Linked DNA regions of Homo sapiens: region 2 is linked to region 1. The links are contacts of gene promoters, found by promoter capture Hi-C in blood cells and fetal thymus (Javierre and others, 2016). All regions are on one chromosome and are shown on one strand. Each heading gives the region's core, a stretch centred on a gene start or on the middle of the fragment in contact. The rest is flanking DNA. Distances are from core to core; before and after follow the strand shown. Region 1 holds the start of TENT5B (terminal nucleotidyltransferase 5B). Region 2 overlaps WDTC1 (WD and tetratricopeptide repeats 1).

What was found. The method cuts DNA at HindIII sites, captures the fragments that hold promoters and counts their contacts. A CHiCAGO score of 5 or more calls a contact.
Region 2: a contact is called between a fragment that was not itself captured here and the fragment with the promoter of TENT5B in region 1, in 3 of 17 cell types (endothelial precursors, M0 macrophages and M1 macrophages). The highest score is 7.0, in endothelial precursors.

Annotation. Positions count from the first base shown.
Region 1 is chr1:27,010,430-27,014,794 of GRCh38, forward strand. It overlaps TENT5B (terminal nucleotidyltransferase 5B), which reads right to left and starts at 2,421. Exons shown (of 2, transcript NM_052943.4): 1 at 1,978-2,421. The coding sequence starts at 2,241. RefSeq lists enhancers at 1,667-2,320, 2,321-2,975. The HindIII fragment of the contact is 29,862 bases long and covers 1-4,365 here.
Region 2 is chr1:27,277,702-27,282,066 of GRCh38, forward strand. All of the region lies in intron 3 of WDTC1 (WD and tetratricopeptide repeats 1), which reads left to right. Among named protein-coding and RNA genes, the nearest start is that of TMEM222, 42 kb to the right of the region's middle. The HindIII fragment of the contact is 1,952 bases long and covers 825-2,776 here.

The DNA.
Region 1 (4,365 bases), core at 1,171-3,670:
CCATCCCTGCACACATCCCAACAGCTTTAGAAGCTGCCAGCTGTGGATTTCTTCCAAGAAACTTTCTTCGCTGTGGAGGCAGCTGTACAGACCAGGTGAAGGCACCTGTCCCCTTTGGAGTCTGGAACCAGAGAGGGTGTTGGAGAGCAGCAGCCTAATCTATCCATCCCAGTTGAACAGATGGGGACACTGAGCCCAGCAAAGAGAATTGACAACAAACAGTCCAGGGCCTGAATCCAGAAGTCCAACTTCCCAGCCCAGCTCTGAAGTCTCTGCTGCCCTTCCTCACCATCGCCGACAGCTCCCTGTTCTGTGCTATCTCTGACCCAGGTCTAGAAGGACATGGCACCACCATTGCATTGTAAAGTTAGCTTCTATTGACCTGGAGTCTCCCCCATCTGGCTAGGAGCACCTGAAGGGATGGAGGCTGAGTCCTAGTCACATCTGTGCCCTTGGTTTCCTAAACAGGGCTTGGCACAGAGCAGACACCAAGAGGCAATCTGAGCCATACTGACAGGGCAAGGACTTCTCCTCCTTCCAGGGTATCCCTTGTTCTTGCAGAGGGGGGCTGCCACACTGGGCTCCACCTTCCCCTCCCTGCCATGCCTGGGGCCACAATCCTGGAGGTGCAGCAGCTGGGGCCCCAGGAATGACTTGACTGTCCCGGGGATTAAAGCCTCGACTGGTTTCCTAATCACCCAGGTGACAGCGAGCAGCCGAGGAATGCCTCGGCGAACTCCACTGGGCCGCGTGTGAGTCAGCCAAGGAGAATCTGCCCCCGCCCCCTCCAGTTCCTAGTTCCTTGGGAGGGTGGGGGAGGTAATCCCCCAGCAGGCAACCCTCCCCCTCTGTGGGAAGCCAAGGTAGTAGGAGGCAGGGGAAAGGCCTACTTCATCCAAAGGAAGCCATCAGTTGGCAGGAACGCACAGGAGTCCTCGCTGGGTTTCTTGGTTTCTTTTATCAAAGGACCCTCCCTAACACCTAGAAGTTGACCTTGGGAGCCGGGGAAGGGGTGGGAAAACATTGAACCTACTGTAATCTGCTCCTGGGAAGACCCAAAATTCCCTAGGTTTGATTTTCACCTCATTAAGTAATCTTGGGTGGCAAACTGCCCCAGCTATAAAATGGGTACAATAATGACCACACTGTGGTATTTCAGAACATGACAGCGTCTGGGCTGTACAGATGAAAAAGCAGTCTTGGGGTCGTTGAGGTTCAGATAAAGGGAAGAGTTGGAGGAGGGAGGGGCTGTCAGAATTCTCTTCTCCCTTTCCTCAGGAGAGAGAGGACGTGGGGCCTGAGGCCTGGGTTGGCCTTCATTTCCAATCTTGGGAAGGAGAAGAAACACCTAAATTGGTCACTTAATGTTGCCCTTGGGGGTGGGGTATCAGGTCTGACCTTCGGCTTAATAAATATTGGGCCACAACCCCAGCTGAGAGAGAGGGAGTCCCTGACAAGTTTTCTTGGCTTTTCCACGGGGTGGAGGGGGAAGGGGGGGTTTCTCCAGCAAAAGGCTGTAGGAGCACAATGGCAGAGGCTGCTCCTAGAACCTCGAGAGAGGAAAGGAGGGTGAGGTCCAGGGATGCCCAGATAGGGAAGGAAAAGCTATTTTGGACTCAAGCATGCACACTTACCCACCCAGGGCCACCTGGCGTCTTTTGTCCTTGCAGGCAGAGACAAATTCTTCCCCCAATGCCCTTGACATCCTCCTCCCCTCTCCCAGCCAGGCCCTGGGTGAGTGATCCGTGGGGAATCAGGGTTCTCCAAGAGTCGAGATGGAAAAGCCAGGTGGGGAAGGATTAGTAGATGCAGGGGGAGGTCTGGTCTACCATTCATAATGCTGTGCAATTGTTACAGCCATGTCCCCGTTCCTCAGTTTCCCTAGCTGTCTAGAAAGTCAAACAGACTACAAATGCCTTCCAGCCACGAGAGCCTCAGAAGGGATTCCCCCACATCCCCCGCCTGGCGTCCTCTCACCTGCACGATCTGCCGGGGCTGCACGCTCAGCGTGGGGAAGTTGCCGCGCCCGTGAATGGGAATCGGCTCGCTCAGAAGAGCGTCCAGTCGCTTCACCTGTGGCCAGCTCAGCCCACTCAGGTGCCGTCCGGGGAAGGCCGATAAGGCCTCCGGGTCGGGGCCGCCGCCTGCCGGGGCTGCCGTGGCCACCGCCGTGGCCGCAGCCGTCCCCACCTGAGCAGCCGCCCGGTCCCTGCGCTCAGCTCCGCTCTCCGACGGCATCATCCGCCCGGCCCCCGGGCCCCGACGGCAGAAACCGTGGGGGTGGTTAAGGGGAGGAGGACAGGGAGAGCGGCTGGGCAGGGGCCAAGGCGGGGGGCACGAAGGCAGGGACGGGGCGGCAACGACGGCGAGACAAAGCCAGGGAACACCTCAGACGGCGACGACTAACCGACCCTAGCGCCTGCAGCCCGCGGCCCAGCGGACTCTTATAGGCCGCGGGCGACGTGCCCATTGGTCCGGGCCGCTGCCAACAGCGAGAGCCGCCCCGCCTCTGAACGCTCCGGACACTGGTCTGTAGAGCTTTGCACGTGAGTCACTGTTCTCTAGGGAGATTCCGATTGGCTAGAGGGCACGCCCCTGCCCCGCCCTCCTTCTCAGGCTGAATTCCCTCCTTTGGTCCTTAAAGAACTTCTGTTCACTGTGATTGGCCCGGGCCTGGACTTAAAGGGACAGCGCCCACCCCGCCCCGCCAGGGTCAGGAGGGAGGGAAGTGACCTGCGGAGTTTGTAGCAGAGTCAGACCACTGAGAAATTCCAGGTTTCTGTTTTTTTTTTTTAGCGCTGGAAGAAATTGAGAAGTCACCTAGCCTTGTCCTGCTATTTTCAGAAGCCCAAAGAGATTGAGCCACGTGATCAACTCTGCACAGCACTGCTCATGCTCTGGCAGTTTTCCAGAGCCTAGGAAAGGTATAATAAACAACTCTGGGCCCGGCGCGGTGGCTCACGCCTGTAATCCCAGCACTTTGGGAGGCCGAGGTGGGCGGATGACAAGGTCAGGAGATCGAGACCATCCTGGCTAACACGGTGAAACCCCGTCTTTACTAAAAATACAAAAAATTAGCCGGGTGTGTGGCGGGCGCCTGTAGTCCCAGCTACTCGGGAGGCTGAGGCAGGAGAATGGCGTGAACCCGGGAGGCGGAGCTTGCAGTGAGCCGAGATTGCGCCACTGCACCCCAGCCTGGGCGACAGAGCGAGACTCCGCCTCAAAAAAAAAAAAATTAATAATAATAATAAACTCTGCATACCAAGGTAAAGGCCTTTTTTTTTTTTTTTTTTTTTTTTTTTCTCGAGACAGAGTCTCGCTTTGTCACCCAGGCTGGAGTGTAGTGGCGCGATCTTGGCTTACCGCAAGCTCCGCCTCCCGGGTTCAAGCAATTCTCCTGCCTCAGCCTCCCGATTAGCTGGGATTACAGGCATGCGCCACCAAGCCCGGCTAATTTTTTTGTGTTTTTAGTAGACACGGGGGTTTCACCATATTGGCCAGGCTGGTCTTGAACTCCTGACCTTGTGATCCACCCACCTCGACCCCCAAAGTGCTGGGATTACAGGCGTGAGCCACTGTGCCCGGCCCTAAAGTAAAGGCTTTCTAAGACACTGTTGATTGGCCTCGCAAACCACAGCATGATGAGCGTTGATGTACAGCATAGCCAATTTAGGGAAGGAGAGATCTGCTCAGAGAGGCTTTGTGATTACCCGACTGTCACACAGCAAACTAGTAAGGCCCTGGTCCTCAACCAGGGCTATAGAATCTGTGGTGCATGTTTTTTCCACTGTACCTATGCAGACCCAGCTCCTTTCTGGAGCTAGAGAACGAATAATGTGTTTACATGTTTTTCTGCAGGTCTAGACAAAACATAATTTAAAAAAAATATGTTTACATGTTTTGCTCTCACACTTTACAGGACCTAGGGGATGAGGCTTATGATTGTCGTTACTTTTATTTTTTATTTTTATCTATTTATTTATTTTTTGAGAGAGGGTCTCACTCTGTTGCCTGGACTGGAGTTGACTGTCATGATCATGGCTCACCACAGCCTCAACCACCCTGGCTCAAGCAATCCTCCCAATCCCAGCCTCCTGAGTAGCTAGGACTACAGGCACACGCCACAGCACCCAGCTAATTTTTCTGTTTTTTTTTTTTTTTTTGTAGAGATAAGGGTCTGGCCATGTTGCCCAGGCTGGTCTTGAACTCCTGGGCTCAAGTGATCTGCCCACTTCAGCCTCCTGAAGTGCAGGGATTACAGGTGTCAACTACTGTGCCTGGCCTGTTATTACTTTTATTTTTCCCCAACCTCACCTGTTGCTTTTAATTTTTTTTTCTGATTTTAAACATGTGCTGTAGCAAAAA
Region 2 (4,365 bases), core at 551-3,050, 270 kb after region 1:
CCACACTGTTTTGATTGCTGTAGCATTGTAGTAAGTTATAAAATTGGGAAGTATGAGTCTTTCAACTTTGTTCATTTTTCAAGATTGTTTTGTCTATTCTGGGTCTCTGGTATTTCCATATGAGCTTTATTTTATTTTAATTTGAAAAAAATTTTTTGAGACAGAGTCTCACTCTGTTGCCCAGGCTGGAGTGCAGTGGCATGATCTTGGCTCACCGCAACCTCCACTTCCTGGTTTCAAGCGATTCTCCTGCCTCAGCCTCCTGTGTAGCTGGGATTACAGGCATGCATGATGACACCCAGCTAATTTTTTTTGTGTTTTAGTAGAGATGGGGTTTCACCATGTTGGCCAGGCTGGTCTCAAACCCCTGACCTCAAATGATCAGCCCAACTCAGCCTCCCAAAGTGCTGGGATTACAGGCGTGAGCCACCACACCTGGCCCATATGAGCTTTAAATTCAAATTTATTGCCACCTGTTTTTATAAGTAAAGTTTTATGGGAACACAGCATACTCACTTATGTATTGCTTATGTTTGCTCTAGTGATTCAATGGTAGAATTGAGTAGTAGTGATATAGACCATATGGCCTGCAAGACCTACAATATTTACTATCTGAGCCTTTACAGAAAAGATTGCTGACCTCTGCTTTAGATGATGGAGTAAACTCATGCTTTGAAGTACCAGAGGGCAGAACTAGGAACTATTCATTAATTCAGTCATATTTTCAAGCAAATATTGAATGCCTACTATATGACAGAAATGTTCTAGACACTGGGAAAATAATATAGCAGTGAATAAGACCAACACAATTCCTGGCCCCATGAAGCTTCTTGCCATGACCTGTAAAACACCCTTAGGATCTGGCCTCTGCTCACCTCCCTGAGCCCATCTTGCTCATCTTACTCTGTCCCCTTCATCACAATGCTCTAACCACATTGGCTTTCATTCTGTTTCTTTGGCATTATCAGGCCTGTTATTTTTATACTCATTATTCCATATGCCTGAAATGCTTTTCCTTCACATCTTTATGTAACTTGCTACTTCTCAGCATTCAGATTTCACCTCAAATATTAATTCCTCAGAGCGGCTTTCCCTGACCACTATATCTAAAGTATATCCAGGCCAGGTATGGTGGCTCATGCCTGTAATCCCAGCACTTTGGGAGGCCAAGGCCAACATGGCAAAACCCCGTCTCAACTAAAAATACAAAAATTAGCCAGGTGCAGTGATGTGTGCTTCGAACCCCAGCTACTTGAGAGACTGAGGCAGAGAATTACTTGAACCTGGGAGGTGGACGTTGCAGTGAGCTGAGATTGCGCCACTGCACTCCAGCCTGGGTGACACAGTAATACACTGTCTCAAAAAATAAAAATAAATAACATATATTCATCACACTTAGTACCATCTGAATTCATCTTACTGATTTATATGTTTGTTTATTTTCTCTCTTACCCTACTAGAGTTCTCTTAATTGCCACAACAACCTTTGCATGTGTAAGAATGCCTAGTATATAATAGGTGCTTGAATAATTGTTAAAAGATTGAATTAAGGCCGGACACAGTGGCTCACGCATGTAATCCCAGCACTTTGAGAGGCTGAGACAGGCAGATCACTTGAGCCCAGGAGTTCAAAACCAGCCAGCCTGGTCAACATGGCAAAACCCCATCTCCACAAAAAATACAAAAATTAACCAGGTGTGGTGGCACGCATCTCTAGTCCCAGCTACTCAGGAGGCTGGGGTGGGAGGATCGCTGGAGCCCGACCAGAAATATAATCGCTCCTTTTCATGACTTTTAGGAGGATTTTTCTTTCTCCAATATAGTTCACATTGGGCTGTGCTTACATTTTTTGTTTCTTGGGATTTTTTTGTTTTTGTTTTTGTGAGACAGAGCCTTGCTCTGTTGCCCAGGCTGGAGTGCAGTGACGTGATCATGGCTCACTGTAGCCTCCACCTCCCGGATTCAAGTGATCCTCACACCTTAGCCTCCCCAGTAGCTGGGACTACAGGTGCACGCCACCACACCTGGCTAATTTTTTAAATTTTTGTAGAGCTAGCATCTCACTATGTTGTCCAGACTAGTCTCCAACTCCTGGGCTCAAGCAATCCTCCTGCCTAGCCTCCCAAAGTGCTGAGATTACTGGTGTGAGCCACCATGCCCAGCCTGTGCTGTAAGTCTTGAACTCTCTTGGTGCAATGGAAAAGACATATTTGGATTTTATTTCTGATTCTGCCACTCAGCTATCAAAGTAACCACTCAAAGTGCTTTACAAATACTGTTCATTTCCCACAACAACCCTATGAGGCTATCTACAATTATTATCTTTTTTACTGATGTAGAGCCTGAGACACAGAGAGGTTAAAGAACTTGCTCAAGGAAATACAGCTTGTACACATAAAATGATATTTGTTGTATTTTATGGACAACTTAATGGATTTTCAAGGGTAATTATGTGAAGTACTTAGGACAGGGCCTGACACATAGTAAGCTAAGTTTACCTATTCTTATAATTATTACTACTCCATATAAGTAATTCTTAGGCACACTAAAATTTGAGAAAACATTGAGCTGGATTAAAGAAGGAACAAAAGAAAAGATTTTATGGAAATGTCTGGATATTCAAATCATTCTGACTTTAAGACAACATATCATTAAGTCAATGGAGAGTGAGTGAGGAATTTTTTAAAGTTTTATTTGCTGTCAGAACTTACTCCATTCTGTTAAAATATTGCACCTACATAACCTTAATACATGGTAATAAGTATGTGTATTGTGAAGCTTAAATAAATTGACAAAAGTGAAAGCTTAGCATCTACCCTGGCATTTAGTAAGTGTTCTGTTAATTTTGCTGGATTTTAATCTAAATCTTGCTTGTTCAGACTCATTCATGCTGTTTTTTAAGAAGTTAGAGAGAAGCACTTGGCTGTCTGCTTCCTGTCTTTCCTAGTTGGCATTTTTTGTGGAGGCTTCATTAAATATCTGTAACTTTCATGCTCTTTGACATTGACCCTTTAGGTTGAGCCTCATTACACAAGGGTTTAGGCCTGAAGTCAGCAGGTACGTTAAATGTGTATATGATGAATCTCACTGGGTTGTAGTTAAGAGAGGGTCCTTATGTGTAGCTACACAAACTGGATCACAGGCTTTGCCTGAAAGTCAGAAAATGTTCTCAAAGATCCTTTAAGCCTCTTCCTAAAGCCTGACATTCCTGTTTTTTTCTGGGTTTGTTTGGTATCTCTCTCCTTTTTCTTTTTCTTATTTTTATTTTATTTTATTTTATTTTTGAGACAGAGTCTCTCTCTCTTTTTTTTCAAATCCCCAAGATAAAGACTCTGACCTAATTTACCTTACTGCACCAGGCTCTACCTATTTGAATTAAGCTCTGGAAGATCCAAGGAGTTTTTTATACTCCTGTACCCCCAGCATCTGAACAGTACCTGGCATGCAGTAGGTGCTTGATGAATAATTTGCCGTGTGAGGCTGGGCGCGGTGGCTCACGCCTGTAATCCTAGCACTTTGGGAGGCCGAGGCGGGCGGATCATGAGGTCGAGACCATCCTGGCTAACACGGTGAAACCTCTGTCTCTACTAAAAATACAAAAAATTAGCCTGGCGTGTTGGCGGGCGCCTGTAGTCTCAGCCACTCAGGAGGCTGAGGCAGGAGAATGGCATGAACCCAGGAGGCGGAGGTTGCAGTGAGCTGAGATCATGCCACTGCACTCCAGCCTGACTCTGTCTCAAAAAAAAAAAAAAAAAAAATGCTGGGTGAATAAAAGATTAGCCTTCTAGTTAATTGGCTGTCCTTGGATTGAATGTTTCCTGGCAAATTTTCTGTGACTGAGAGGGTATCCCTTGAAGGTACTGTTTCAGACATATCTCTTTTTCTGTTTTTGTTTTGTTTTGTTTGAGACACGGTCTGGCTCTGTCGCCCAGGCTGGAGTGCAGTGGTGCGATCTCAGCTCACTCCAACCTCCACCTCCCAGGCTCAAGTCATCCTCCCAACCTCAGCCTCCCGAGTAGCTTGGACTACAGGCACATGCCACCACACCCAACTAATTTTTGTGTTTTTTGTAGAGATGGGGTTTCGCCGTGTTGCCCAGGTTGATTACAACTCCTGAGCTCAAGCAATCTGCCCAAAGCAGATTGGGCAGCCTCCCAAAGCACTAGGATTACAGGTGTGAGCCTCTGTGCCTGGCTGACATACTCCTTCTAATGGTAAAAGCAGAAATGTGTTTGGATCTCACTTTTACTGCTTTCTACTGTCTGAACTTCAGTTTACTTTTCTGCAAAACGGGATCAATGAAACTTGTCCTTTATGGCTCAGAAGTGCCCAGTATCAAGTGAGATCATGAATATGAAAGTACTT